2 separate regions of the Homo sapiens genome follow, and region 1 is linked to region 2. The links are contacts of gene promoters, found by promoter capture Hi-C in blood cells and fetal thymus (Javierre and others, 2016). All regions are on one chromosome and are shown on one strand. Each heading gives the region's core, a stretch centred on a gene start or on the middle of the fragment in contact. The rest is flanking DNA. Distances are from core to core; before and after follow the strand shown. Region 1 has its middle 63 kb from the start of LINC00501. Region 2 holds the start of ZNF639 (zinc finger protein 639).

Region 1 (5,830 bases), core at 589-3,088, 2.0 Mb after region 2:
AGGATGATTTATAAGTGCACCCGAAGGCAAAATGAAGCATGTATCGATATCTAAAGTGCATCTGCATTTAGTGAAGCAAAAGCTCATAGTCTGTTTCTAATTTGTGCCTTGCAGATGCCCTCCCCACTAGGGAAAGGCCTGGCTCTGAGCAGCCGCCCCTCCCCGAGGCCGCCAAGCTCCCAGTTCAGGCCCTTTCTTGGGCAGCCGGAGTGCTCCTCTCTTAGATAATGCCAGGTACTCTGGAAAGTAGCCGTGTAATAATACACAAACCCCTGATGATGTCAGCGTGTTATTGACTTTCCAAGTCTGAATGACTGAGCAGAGGAGCGGGGGTGGGGCGCAATCCATCCGGCAGCGCGGAGACCGGCCAAGCGAAAATGGGCTCGCCAGCCTGGCGGGGGAGGGGCGGCTCGCAACAGCGGCGGCTGCTTCGAGCTCCGGCTCTGCCGCCGCGGCGTCGGGGTCGCTGCCGCCCAGCCCAGGCGGGGCTCGGGTTCCCGCTCCTCTGATGTTTACGTTTGGTCAAAAACTCCTCAGACAGAAATAACTAATGCCTCCCCCCGGAAGCTTTTACCACGTGGCAGAGTGGGGTCACAAAGGGGGGAGCAGTGGCACGAAGGGGATGGGGAGGAAGACCTCCCTGTTCCCTCCCCCACCCTGCAGGGGCCTTCCTCTTAGGCTGCAGAGCCGAGGGTCGCTCTCCGTGGTGGAGTTCCCTCTGCAGAAGACCCCTGGAAAATTGCACTTCAGCAGTGGTGACATTTTATAGGCCATGATTTGCTGCATTTATGGCTCTGGCAGTGCAGGTGCGGAGTCGTAGGCTCCCGTTCTCACCCTGCAAATTGCTCACAGTGCAATCTGTCATCTTCAAGGCTAGGTGTGAACCGGGCAGGGTTGCCCTTAAAACGGAATTGCAGTTAAAGGCCGGGATCTGGAAGGAAGCGCTCTACCCCGGGGCGTGGCCTTTCCCACCGGCTCTGGACCTTTCCTTCAAGCCCCGCCATGCGCGCCCACCGACTTGGCTGTCGCAGCCTGGGGGCACTGGGCGCCCTGGGCTCTGCCTGCCTGCAGAGCTCTCATTCTTTCCGTTCCAGGCCTGTGGAATCCTCCAGTGAACAAGGCCTCATGCTGGCCTCTGCCCCACCCCACTGCGAGGAGCCGCTCCTCCTCCGAGGCCTATGGTTTTTCTCCCCGCGGAGTGGGCTTGGTGGGAGCACCGCGTGGCGCAAACAGCACGGGGGGACTTTGGAATCGCCTGGACTTGAGCCCTGCCCCACCACGTGTTCGCTGTGTGAATGTGGACAGGGTGGTTACCCTCTCTACAGCCCGCGTCTTAAAATGGGAGTAGTAACAACCCCCTCAACAGTTGTTCTGAGGATTAAGTGAAATTCAGATTTCATAGGAGACCTTTTTCAATAGTCAAGTCTCTCGCCTTTATGAGTCAAGTTCCACTGGGGCCAGAGGCCCTGTGGTTGTTTCTGAAAACAAGGTCAGCAGAAGTGCTAGACCCATTGTTTCCTCAACTCAGCCCTTCCCCCTACACTCCTGGCAAAGTGGAGCCCGCAGCCTCTTCCGACCCACTTCCACCTTCACCCACACCCACAGGCTTACAGGGCAGAGCTGTTTTGTTGACGGGGCGGGGGTGGGGGTGGGGACGTGGAAACTGTACCTCTGACCTAAGCTGGACCATTCACGGCCCTTCTCAAATTTCCCTCCCCCACCTTGCCACAGGGGATTGGTCCCAGCGGGAAGAGCTGACATATTTGAATCCAATCAAAAGCCTTCTTGGGAAATTTTGAAACTGGAAGTGAAAAAGTCAGTTTCTCCCCAGGGCTAAAACTGCAAGATATTATAACATACATGACCATGTTTCCCATGGTCAGGAGAGGAGAGGCAAGGCCAATCTGAAGGCAGAAACAGAGATAAAGATCGAGCAGAAAACAAAGATAGAGCCTCAGCCACAGCCAGACAGGCTGGGAGAGAGCGCTGAGGCCAACAGGAGTCTAATGTTATTGGCAGCATCGGTTCCTGTGTCCCTGGTACAGCCCTGCCTGCCCCCGATTCCTTGCGACAGCCCATTATTTTTTGCCACAAATTCTTATTGTTTAACCTAGTTTGTGTTTTTGTTGCTTCTAATCCAAAAATCCCATGGCATTTACTAGTTTAACTTACACAGTATGTCAGTTGAGTTCAAGAGCTCCCCAGCCCCATTATAACCCCCCGAGAAGTCTTCTATCCTCCGCAGCATATGTCAGTGCCCCATAACAAGGTGCTCAATAAATGCTCTTCAGATTGCACTGAGCAAGTTGTGAGTGGACGGGAAGTGCCCTGGTGGCTGTTGAAACTGGAGGCTTCAACTGGTTAATTTAAAGGGGAAGCATCGCCAATTGCCACAGACTTCTAGAAGCCCATTTATTGTACCCTAGTGGTAATTAGGGCTTATTCAAGTGAATAGAAAGAGAAAAGAGAAGAAACTTTATCCCCTCTAAATTGCATTTAATAAAAATCTTGGAGAAAATGAGTGAATTGTCAGGCTTAATAATTTCCCCTGGGTCTTTGTTGGAGGGAGGCTGAGGAAATGTACAGTATTCTACATTTATAGGACAGCAGATCTGCATTTTAACAGAGTAAAATGCAGTCGTGGCTTACCCTCCTTTTTTCCCCCTTCATTTGTTTCCAAAGGGTTTTTTTCCAGCTCATGAGTCACTTCCAGTCAGATTCAAAGACAAAAGCCGGCTAATTGTGTGTCCATGAGTCAGGGTCCCACCCTGCCTTATCTGAACACCCTTTCTAGCTCTGAGAAGACAGAGCAATTTTCAGCCTATAAGGCATTGAGTGGAACCTGTTACACACCGCTTCTGGGTCAGGCTCTTTAGGGAGCAGTCCAGGCCCTTCCATTTCCTTCTGGCATCTGGCAGCTGATAGCACCTTGGGGTGTTTCCTTGCCAGTGTTATTTTCAGTCAGGAACTGTGCAGTCTACCCTGTTCCTAAGGCACCCTGTTGAGCCCAGAGAGATAAAGGTGAATTTAAAAGGAGGTCTAAACCCTCTAGCAATTTATCATATAATGAAGGAGAAAGGCAGAAAAGAATCACTGTTAGACAAGCTTTGAGGGTTATGGAAGAGTAAGTGCTAAGACTAATGATTTCTCAGTCTGCACCCCTTGCTGTCTCTCAGCAGCATTTTATCTGGTTGACTTTCCAACTACTTGAAACATTTTATTTCCAGACCTCCCTGATGTTACTTTGTTTTCCAAGCAGTGTCTATTTCCCACCCCCACTTTTTCTCTTATCCTTATGCCTTACATTCTCCCTCTTTCTAGATATCTCACTTCCAGATAATGGTACCACATCCAGCTGGCTGCTCATGCCCCAGAGACAATTCCTGATTTTTTTTTTTTTCTTTTTGAGACAGAATCTCGCTCAGTTGCCCAGGCTGGAGTGCAGTGGCATGATCTTGGTTCAATGTAGCCTCCGCCTCCTGGGTTCAAGGATTCTAATGCCTCAGCCTCCTCAGTAGCTGGGATTACAGGCGTCCACCACCACATCCAGCTCATTTTTGTATTTTTAGTAAAGATGGGGTGTCACCAGGTTGGCTAGGCTAGTCTCAAACTCTTGACCTCAGGTGATCTGCCCACCTCGGCCTCCCAAAGTGCTGGGATTACAGGCTTGAGCCACCATGCCCAGCCCTGATTTTTTCTTTTCTGTCATTCACTACACCCAATCCATCAGCTGGTTTCCCTCCAAAATTGTCTGTATGCATGCCCTTCTCCATCTATACTGCCACCATGCAACAAAGACATCTGCATCTCTCCTCTGCTCAGGGGCAGTAACCTCTGCCAAAATCCCACTACACTGAGAGCACTACTCAAACTCCTTGTCTAGGCCTCCTATGCCTTAGGTCATTTCCTCCTTTTATTCATTCCCTCCACCTTCTCCTAGCTCAGGCCACCCCTGCCACATGAGACCCTTTTCTTTCACCACTTTACTTCTTCCTATCTTAAGGCCTCTGCTCTTAGAGTTGGTTCCCTCTGCCTGGAAGACTCTCTGGCCCTTCCTAAGCTGGCTCCTCTATATCTGTCTTCTCTATATCTGTCTTAGATCGTTCAGGCTGCTATAACAAAAAATACCATTGATACAATTTGGATGTTTGTCTCCTCCAACTCTCATGTTGAATTGTAATCCACCAGTGTTGGAGGCGGGGCCTGATGGGAGGTGTTTGGGGCCGATCACTCATGAATTTCTTGGTGCTATTCTCACAATAATAAGTTCTCATGAGACCTGGTTGTTTAAAAGTGTGTGGCACCTCCCTGCACTCTCTCTTGCTCCTGCTCTCACCATGTGACGTGCCTGCTCCCCTTCACCTTCCTCCATGATTGTAGGCTTCCTGAGGCCTCCCCAGAAGCAGATGCCAGCACCACATATCCTGTACTGTCTCAAAACGATGCCCCAATTAAACCTCTTTTCTATATAATTTACCCAGCCTCAGGTATTTCTTTATAGCAATGCAAAAACAGCCTGACACAACCATAGACAGGGTGGCTTAAATAACACATTTATTTCTCACAGTTCTAGAGGCTAGGAAGTCCAAGGTCACAGGGCTGGCAAATTCAGTTCCCGGTGAGAACCTTCTTCTTGGTTTGCAGGTGAACACCTTCTTGCTATATCCTCACGTAGTAGAGAGAGAAATCATCTTTCTCATGTCTCTTATTTATTTATTTTTGAGACGGAGTCTCACTCTATTGCCCAGGATGGAGCGCAATGCAGTGATCTCGGCTCGCTACAACCTCCACCTCCAGGATTCAAGTGATTCTCCTGCCTCAGCCTCCTGAGTAGCTGGGATTACAGGCACCTGCCACCACACCTGGCTAATTTTTGTATTTTTAGTAGAGATGGGGTTCACCATGTTGGCCAGGCTGGTCTCAAACTCCTGACCTCGTGATCCACCCATCTCAGCCTTACAAAGTGCTGGGATTACAGGCATAGGCATGAGCCAACACACCAGGCCTCATGTCTCTTCTTTTTTTTTTTGAAACGGAGTCTTGCTGTGTCACCAGGTTGGAGTGCAGTGGCGTGATCTCAGCTCACTGCAACCTCTACCTCCCGGGTTCAAGCGATTCTCCTGCCTCAGCCTCCAAGTAGCTGGGTCTACAGGCACCGCCACCACGCCCAGCTAATTTTTGTATTTTTAGTGGAGACGGGGTTTCACCGTGTTAGCCAGACTGGTCTCGATCTCTTGACCTCATGATCTGCCCACCTCGGCCTCCCAAAGTGCTGAGATTACAGGCATGAGCCACCACACCCGGCCATGTCTGTTCTTATAAAGGCACTAATCCTATTCATGAGACTGCCACCCTCATGATCTGATCACCTCCCAAAGACCCCACCTCCAAATACCATCACGTTGGGGATTAGGGCTTCAACACAGGAATCTGGCGGGGACACAAACGTTCATTCCATGGCAGTATCCTTCAGGTTTCAGTTCAGTGATCAACCCCCTAGAGAGGTCTTCCATGACCACTACATGTTACATTCTATCACACCACTCAGTTTATGGCCAGCACACACTCACCATGATCTGTAGTAATCAGTTATTTTATTTATTTATTTCTGTCTTCTCTGTCTTCCCATTGGAACATAATCTCCAGGAACGCAGATATCGTATCAGGCTTGCTCCTTGTTCATTAATGAGTTCATTGACTAGAGTCTATTTCATAATAGGTACACAGTAAGTCCTTTTTGATTAATCAGTGCAGATAGTAGCGAAAGGTCAGTACAGATATGCCTAAGTTAACTCCTCAAGAAAAAGTGGAAGTTCACCAGGTGAATGAG
Region 2 (5,831 bases), core at 2,636-5,135:
GCCTGGCCCAAATTATAAACTTTAAACTGTTACAGCCCTTATAGATTATTTATTTAAGAAATAAAAGATCGAGACCAGCCTGGCCAATATGGTGAAATCCCGTCTCTGCTAAAAATACAAAAATCAGCCGGGTGTGATGGTGCGCACCTGCAATCCCAGTTACTCAAGAGGCTGAGGCAGGAGAATGGCTTGAACCTGGGAGGCGGAGGGCTACAGTGAGCTGACATCGTGCCACTGCACTCCAGCCTGGGCAACAGAGCAAGACTCTCTCTCAAAAACAAAAAATCAAAACAAAACAAAAAAAGAAAAAAGTAAAAGTGATAATAATAATTTACTGACCACCAATTATGTACCAGGCTGTGAACATACTTTATCTCATTTAATCCTATGTAATCGTATGAGATGCAAAATTCACATCACCCTCTCAAAATTATAGTTCCTGTTATTGAGGAAACTGAGGCACAGTAAAGTCAAAGCTAGATACTCAGTAAATGCTGGGGTTGGGATTTGAATAAAGGTTTACCCAACTTTATTTATTAATCTATTTATTTATTTGAAACGGAGTCTTGCTCTGTCACCCAGGCTGGAGTGCAGTGGCACGATCTTGGCTCATTGCAACCTCTGCCTCCCCAGCTCAAGCGATTCTCCTGCTTCAGCCTCCTGAGTGGCCGGGATTACGGGCGCCCGCCAGCAGGAGGCTGGGATTACAGGTACCCGCCAGCACACCCAGCTAATTTTTGTATTTTTAGTAGAGACGGGGGTTTACTATGTTAGCCAGGCTGGTCTTGAACTCCTGACCTCAAGTGATCCGCCCACCTCAGCCTCCCAAAGTGCTGGGATTACAGGCACGAGGCACCGCGCCCGGCCTATAATGCTCTTAACACCAAGGTGATACACATGACAGGTGTTCTAGCTGAGGTGCACATACTATTTTTGCTGCTTCACTAAGTTCTGGGTATATCAGCACTGAAGTGATATAATACAGCAGGGAATGAGATAGTGCTTTTTCAGTTTATTTTATTTTTACTTTTTTTTCGGACAGAGTCTCGCTCTTTCGCCCAGGCTGGAGTGCAGTGGCGCTATCTTGGCTCACTGCAAGCTCCGCCTCCCGGGTTCATGCCATTCTCCTGCCTCAGCCTCCCAAGTAGCTGGGACAACAGGCGCCCGGCTAATTTTTTGTATTTTTAGTACAGACGGGGTTTCACCGTGTTAGCCAGGATGTTCTCGATCTCCTGACCTCGTGATCTGCCCGCCTCGGCCTCCCAAGGTGCTGGGATTACAGGCGTGAGCCACCGCGCCCGGCCTTTTCAGTTTATTAAGCATTTTCCTAACCCTTATTCTATTTCATCTTCAAAATGGTCCTGTGCGGTACATGGAGGAGTTACTATCAAACCCATTTACATTTTTACTGATGTGGAAACAGCCTTAGTGAAAGTTAAGTCAACTAATAAGTGGGAGAACCAGAGATGAAAATGCATGCACATCTTGCTTCCAGTTCTTAGCTACCAGTTGGGAGAAGGGGAACAGAATAGCCTAAAGAAACAGACAACCATGAAATGTACAGAAATGATACCAATATATAAAATACCTCACCTCGCCGGGTGCAGTGGTTCACGCCTGTAATCCCAGCACTTTGGGAGGCCGAGGCGAACAGATCACCTGAGGTCGGGAATTCAAGACTAGCCTGACCAACATGGGGAAACCCCGTCTCGACTGAAAATACAAAATTAGCCGGGCGTGGTGGCACATGCCTGTAATCTGAGCTACTCGGGAGGCTGAGGCATGAGAATCGCTTGAATCCGGGAGGCGGAGGTTGTGGTGACCCGAGATCACATCATTGTCCTCCAGCCTGGGTAACAGGAGTGAAACTCTGTCTAAAAAAGAAAGAAAGAAAGAAAAAAGAATAAAATCAAACGCCTCACCTAACAATGTAAACAATCATTCCTTGAGTAACCATCTCAATTCACTGCATTCAAAAATCAAAAAGAGAAGAGCTATTACGATTCATATAGCCCAAAGCTTCACACTTCATGTTCTAAATACTCTAAAAGTATCAGGGAGAACACTGAAAACACTCAGCCGAACATGTTAAGTAGTCTCTTGTTATTTCAGAATGCATCTCAAGTTCTTTGCAACTTGAAGAATAAAAGTAAGAAAAGGAAACCAAGCGTGGTATTAAAATCAACGTTGCAAGCTGGCCTGGATTCAGGCTGTTAGGTGAGAGGAGGAGGCACACGGATCAGGAAGGGTCTGACTCCTACTTAGGGCCGAACGATAACCAAATGTCTATCGGACTTCCTTTCAGCACAATGGTGATGCCTACTCAAGACCAAAAATGCTAACCATCCTTCATTTTAGCAATCATTTTTATGTGCCTTTTGTGTGCATAACAGCCTTGAAAAAACTTAGCTTTCTACTCAAGGATGTCATAAACATTTGCTCACTAGTCTTCTTAGCAGGAAGATTCTGAATCACAAGCAACCTATCACAGTCCCCCCTCCCTCTGAAATACAAACGACATATGTAACACGTGTCACTGCAGAAAAATCAGAAAAATGTTTAAAAATTTTTTATATCACCTAGAAACCAACATCTTTCCACCTGTCATTTTTTTCAACCAACAAGAAAGTCTATGCACAAAATAGAATACATACAACAGGCAGTCAGCAATCATCAAATAGATAAACGTTTCAAAAGGCCTTTCATGCAATGTATATTCTTCCTAATTGCTGTAAGACGTCTTTACAGTAAATAACTCCATTTTTAACGAGTTTAAAAAGAGTTAAGCTTTCTTTTTCGTTCTCATTAAAATAAGCATATGCTTTAAATTGTAAAAGAATTGAAACAAAAACATGTTGCAGGAGAGCCTGAACTAGAATCCACTACATGTCCAACGTGGAGGCAGTCTTTACTGCAATATCACACGGTCACTAAATACTTGATTCGCTATTTTTCAGTCCGGCATAAATCTTTCTCTTCGAAAAAAACAAAAAAGGCATAAACTGCTTCAAATGATTCGTTTCCCTAGACAGTACTTAAAGACAAAACCAAAAAAGGGGGTTTCTAAGCACCGTCACACGAGTGAGGCGACTCTCAGGCTGGAGGCTTTGGGCGCCAGCATCGACGCCTGCTCTCCGCGGCTACAACTCGTTGCGCGAGCCCGGGGATTCGCCGCCGGAGGTCACGAAGCCGCCGGGCAGGGCCGCAGCGCCAGCGAGGACCCAGGATCGTCCCGAGCCCGGACGCAGCCAGACAAATGCCCGTCGGAGGCGCAGGGCAGAAGTCCCTGGGACTTAGCCGCCTCCACCCCGGCGCCACGCACCAGCTTCGCCCGGGCCCAGAAGCCGGCGCCAAGGAGACTTCCAAGCCCCGACACCAAAGGTTCCGTAAAGACAACGGCAGCAGGGGGCCGAGGGGAGCCCGGCCAAGGCGTCCTGCGCAGGGGGTGGAACTGCCTTCGGGATGGGGGAGGGGAACGCCATCCCGCCATATAACGAAGGCAGAGTTTCCGTATAAAGGGAGCTCCGGTCTCTCCCGCCCTCTCCCGTTAGAAGATGCGCCCGCACGCCCGCGTCCCCTGGAGCAGTCCAGCGCCCGACCCACCCGCTCCTCCCTCACACTCACCAGTCAGTCCCCCGAGGCCCTCCCGGCCGGCCCACGCAGAGGCGGCGGCGGCCGAGAGCGCAGGCGGAGGGGCCGCGCGGTCCTTCCCGCGGACGCACGGCGGCGGGCAGCGCTGCTCCGGCCCTAGCGCTCCCGGACGCTGTGCTGGGCCGACCCCTCTCCCTCCCCGCGCGCCCCACGCCCTGAGCGCCAGGCCCCTGGCCTAGGCTCCGCGGCCGCACTGCCCTGGCCGCCACGCTCCGCGCCTGCGCCGCGCACCTCAGGGGCCCGCCGAGAGGGCGGGGAGGTGACGAGGTGAGGTGGGGGCAGGGAGCGGGCTGCGCGAACGCACCGCACACGCGGCCTGGGAGGGACCACCGGCCCGCAGCCCCGGGGGAGGCCCAGCGGCCCGCGCCCCCTGCCGGAGGCCTTGCGCCGCCGCAGTCTCCTTCTGGGCGGGGAAGAGCCCCTCCCGAGCCCCGAGGGCGATCCCACCCTCTAGGATTACTCCACGCCAGGCGGCCAGCGAATTTATCCCGCCCGCCTCCACCGCCCCTTCAAGCCCTGGGGAACTGGGAGAAACGTGGCGCGCAGCGGCACCTTTCCCACGCTGCTCCTCAAGGGAAAGGACGCGAGTGGTCTTGCCCAGGTTAGGCAAGGCAGATGGCATCTCAGACCCCGAAGTGTGCCAGCCGCCTGTTGGGGACAGAGAGGCCGAGGACCTCGTCACGGTTTTACTGAGGCCACACCAGAGAACCACCTAGGGCTAGGATGCTGCCCTCAGGGCAAGAGGGTGAAACCTGAAGACTGCGAGTCGTTGTTGAGTTTCACCCGATTCCTTGGCTCGAGAAATAGTGGAATGAATGAGGAGTTAAGGGGGACTGGACTCGACGATTTAAGTCCTTTCTCGACTTTGACTTTCTTTGAGCAGCTGTAGAAATGATTAAATTACACGAGCATAAATAAATTTGTGAACATGGTTCCATAAATGATCTCTGTGCAAGTGTGGTGATATGTTTAATTCAGTCCTTTTGACAATGAGTTGAGGTTTTTAGTCACATTTTACAAAATGGAAAAGTAAATGTGTGAGAAGCTAAAGACTGGGTCTTAATTCATTTTGGTAGCCTAAACCCCTGAGGTTCAAACGGTTAAGAGGATGACTGAGAGCCATGTGGATTATCAGGTACCCAAGGTCACTCGGATAGTTAGGGCTGCAATGATGTCTCTTTGTTCACGTCCACTGCTTTTTCTGACAACCACATGCCAATCAACCAATCAATCGCTGGAAAGTAATAATCACAGACTTTACTCTGATCCCTTCACCATCCCCCAGGAGATAAAGCTATATTTGAAAGAGACACTACTTGTTTGTGAGGCTCAGTTTTTATGACCTCCTAAGTTTTATGTGCGTACTCAGCTCAAATAAATGCTCACGAATGCTAGTATGGCCCGAATTAAAGTTCGAAGAAATGTAGAGACATTTTTAAATCCTAGAATAGTTAGTATCTAGCACAGAACCGGGAATCGGTGGAAACCACAAGGGGGTGTCATGCCACCATCTTACCATTTTGCCTTACCACATAGCCTTGTGTCCAACAAAATCTTTATATTTCAAAATGAAGTTTTACTCCAAAACATTTTGTAGTGAAAGTAAACGCACACTCTCCCCAGCATCCCACGTATTGTTTGCACTTAGAGGAGCTTGACTTTGTTTAGATGTTGTTTAACATAGTCACAAATTGCAAGCAATTTCAAGTTCTTGATTAGCTGGAGTGTTTTTCAGTTTCATTTTTGGGTCCCTCTTTTCCTCATCTCCCGCTCCAAGGGAGGGTGATAGCTGGGATAAAACCCTAAAATCTCAAGAGTGCTAAATTGTAGAGTTTGTTAAATACTATTATAAATTTGATTCAGGGCTATTAAAACATCGTTCTTCCAACTTTTTCACACACTTGTAGAATAGCTTAATTTCTCCTTCCTTTCCTTCCTTCCTTTTCTTTTTTTTCTTTTTTCTTTCTCACGGTCTCACTCTGTCGCCCAGGCTCCAGTACAGAGATGGGATATCGGCTCACTGCAATCTCCACCTCCTAAATTCAAGCAATTCTCGTGCCCCACCCTTCAGATTAGCTGAGATTACAGGCGCGAGCTGCCACACCTGGCTAATTTTTGTATATTTAGTGGTGCTGAGATTTCACCATATTGGCCAGGCTGGTCTTGAGCTTCTGGCATCA

The links. The method cuts DNA at HindIII sites, captures the fragments that hold promoters and counts their contacts. A CHiCAGO score of 5 or more calls a contact.
Region 1: a contact is called between a fragment that was not itself captured here and the fragment with the promoter of ZNF639 in region 2, in 1 of 17 cell types (fetal thymus). The highest score is 7.3, in fetal thymus.

The regions. Positions count from the first base shown.
Region 1 is chr3:177,354,538-177,360,367 of GRCh38, reverse strand. No RefSeq gene overlaps it. Among named protein-coding and RNA genes, the nearest start is that of LINC00501, 63 kb to the right of the region's middle. RefSeq lists enhancers at 193-487, 1-839, 1,513-1,807, 1,694-1,933, 2,054-2,253. The HindIII fragment of the contact is 2,538 bases long and covers 570-3,107 here.
Region 2 is chr3:179,321,085-179,326,915 of GRCh38, reverse strand. ZNF639 (zinc finger protein 639) reads right to left here and starts at 3,885. Exons shown (of 6, transcript NM_001303426.2): 1 at 3,625-3,885. RefSeq lists enhancers at 1,785-1,884, 2,926-2,975 and silencers at 3,546-3,685, 3,716-4,155. The HindIII fragment of the contact is 4,241 bases long and covers 2,790-5,831 here.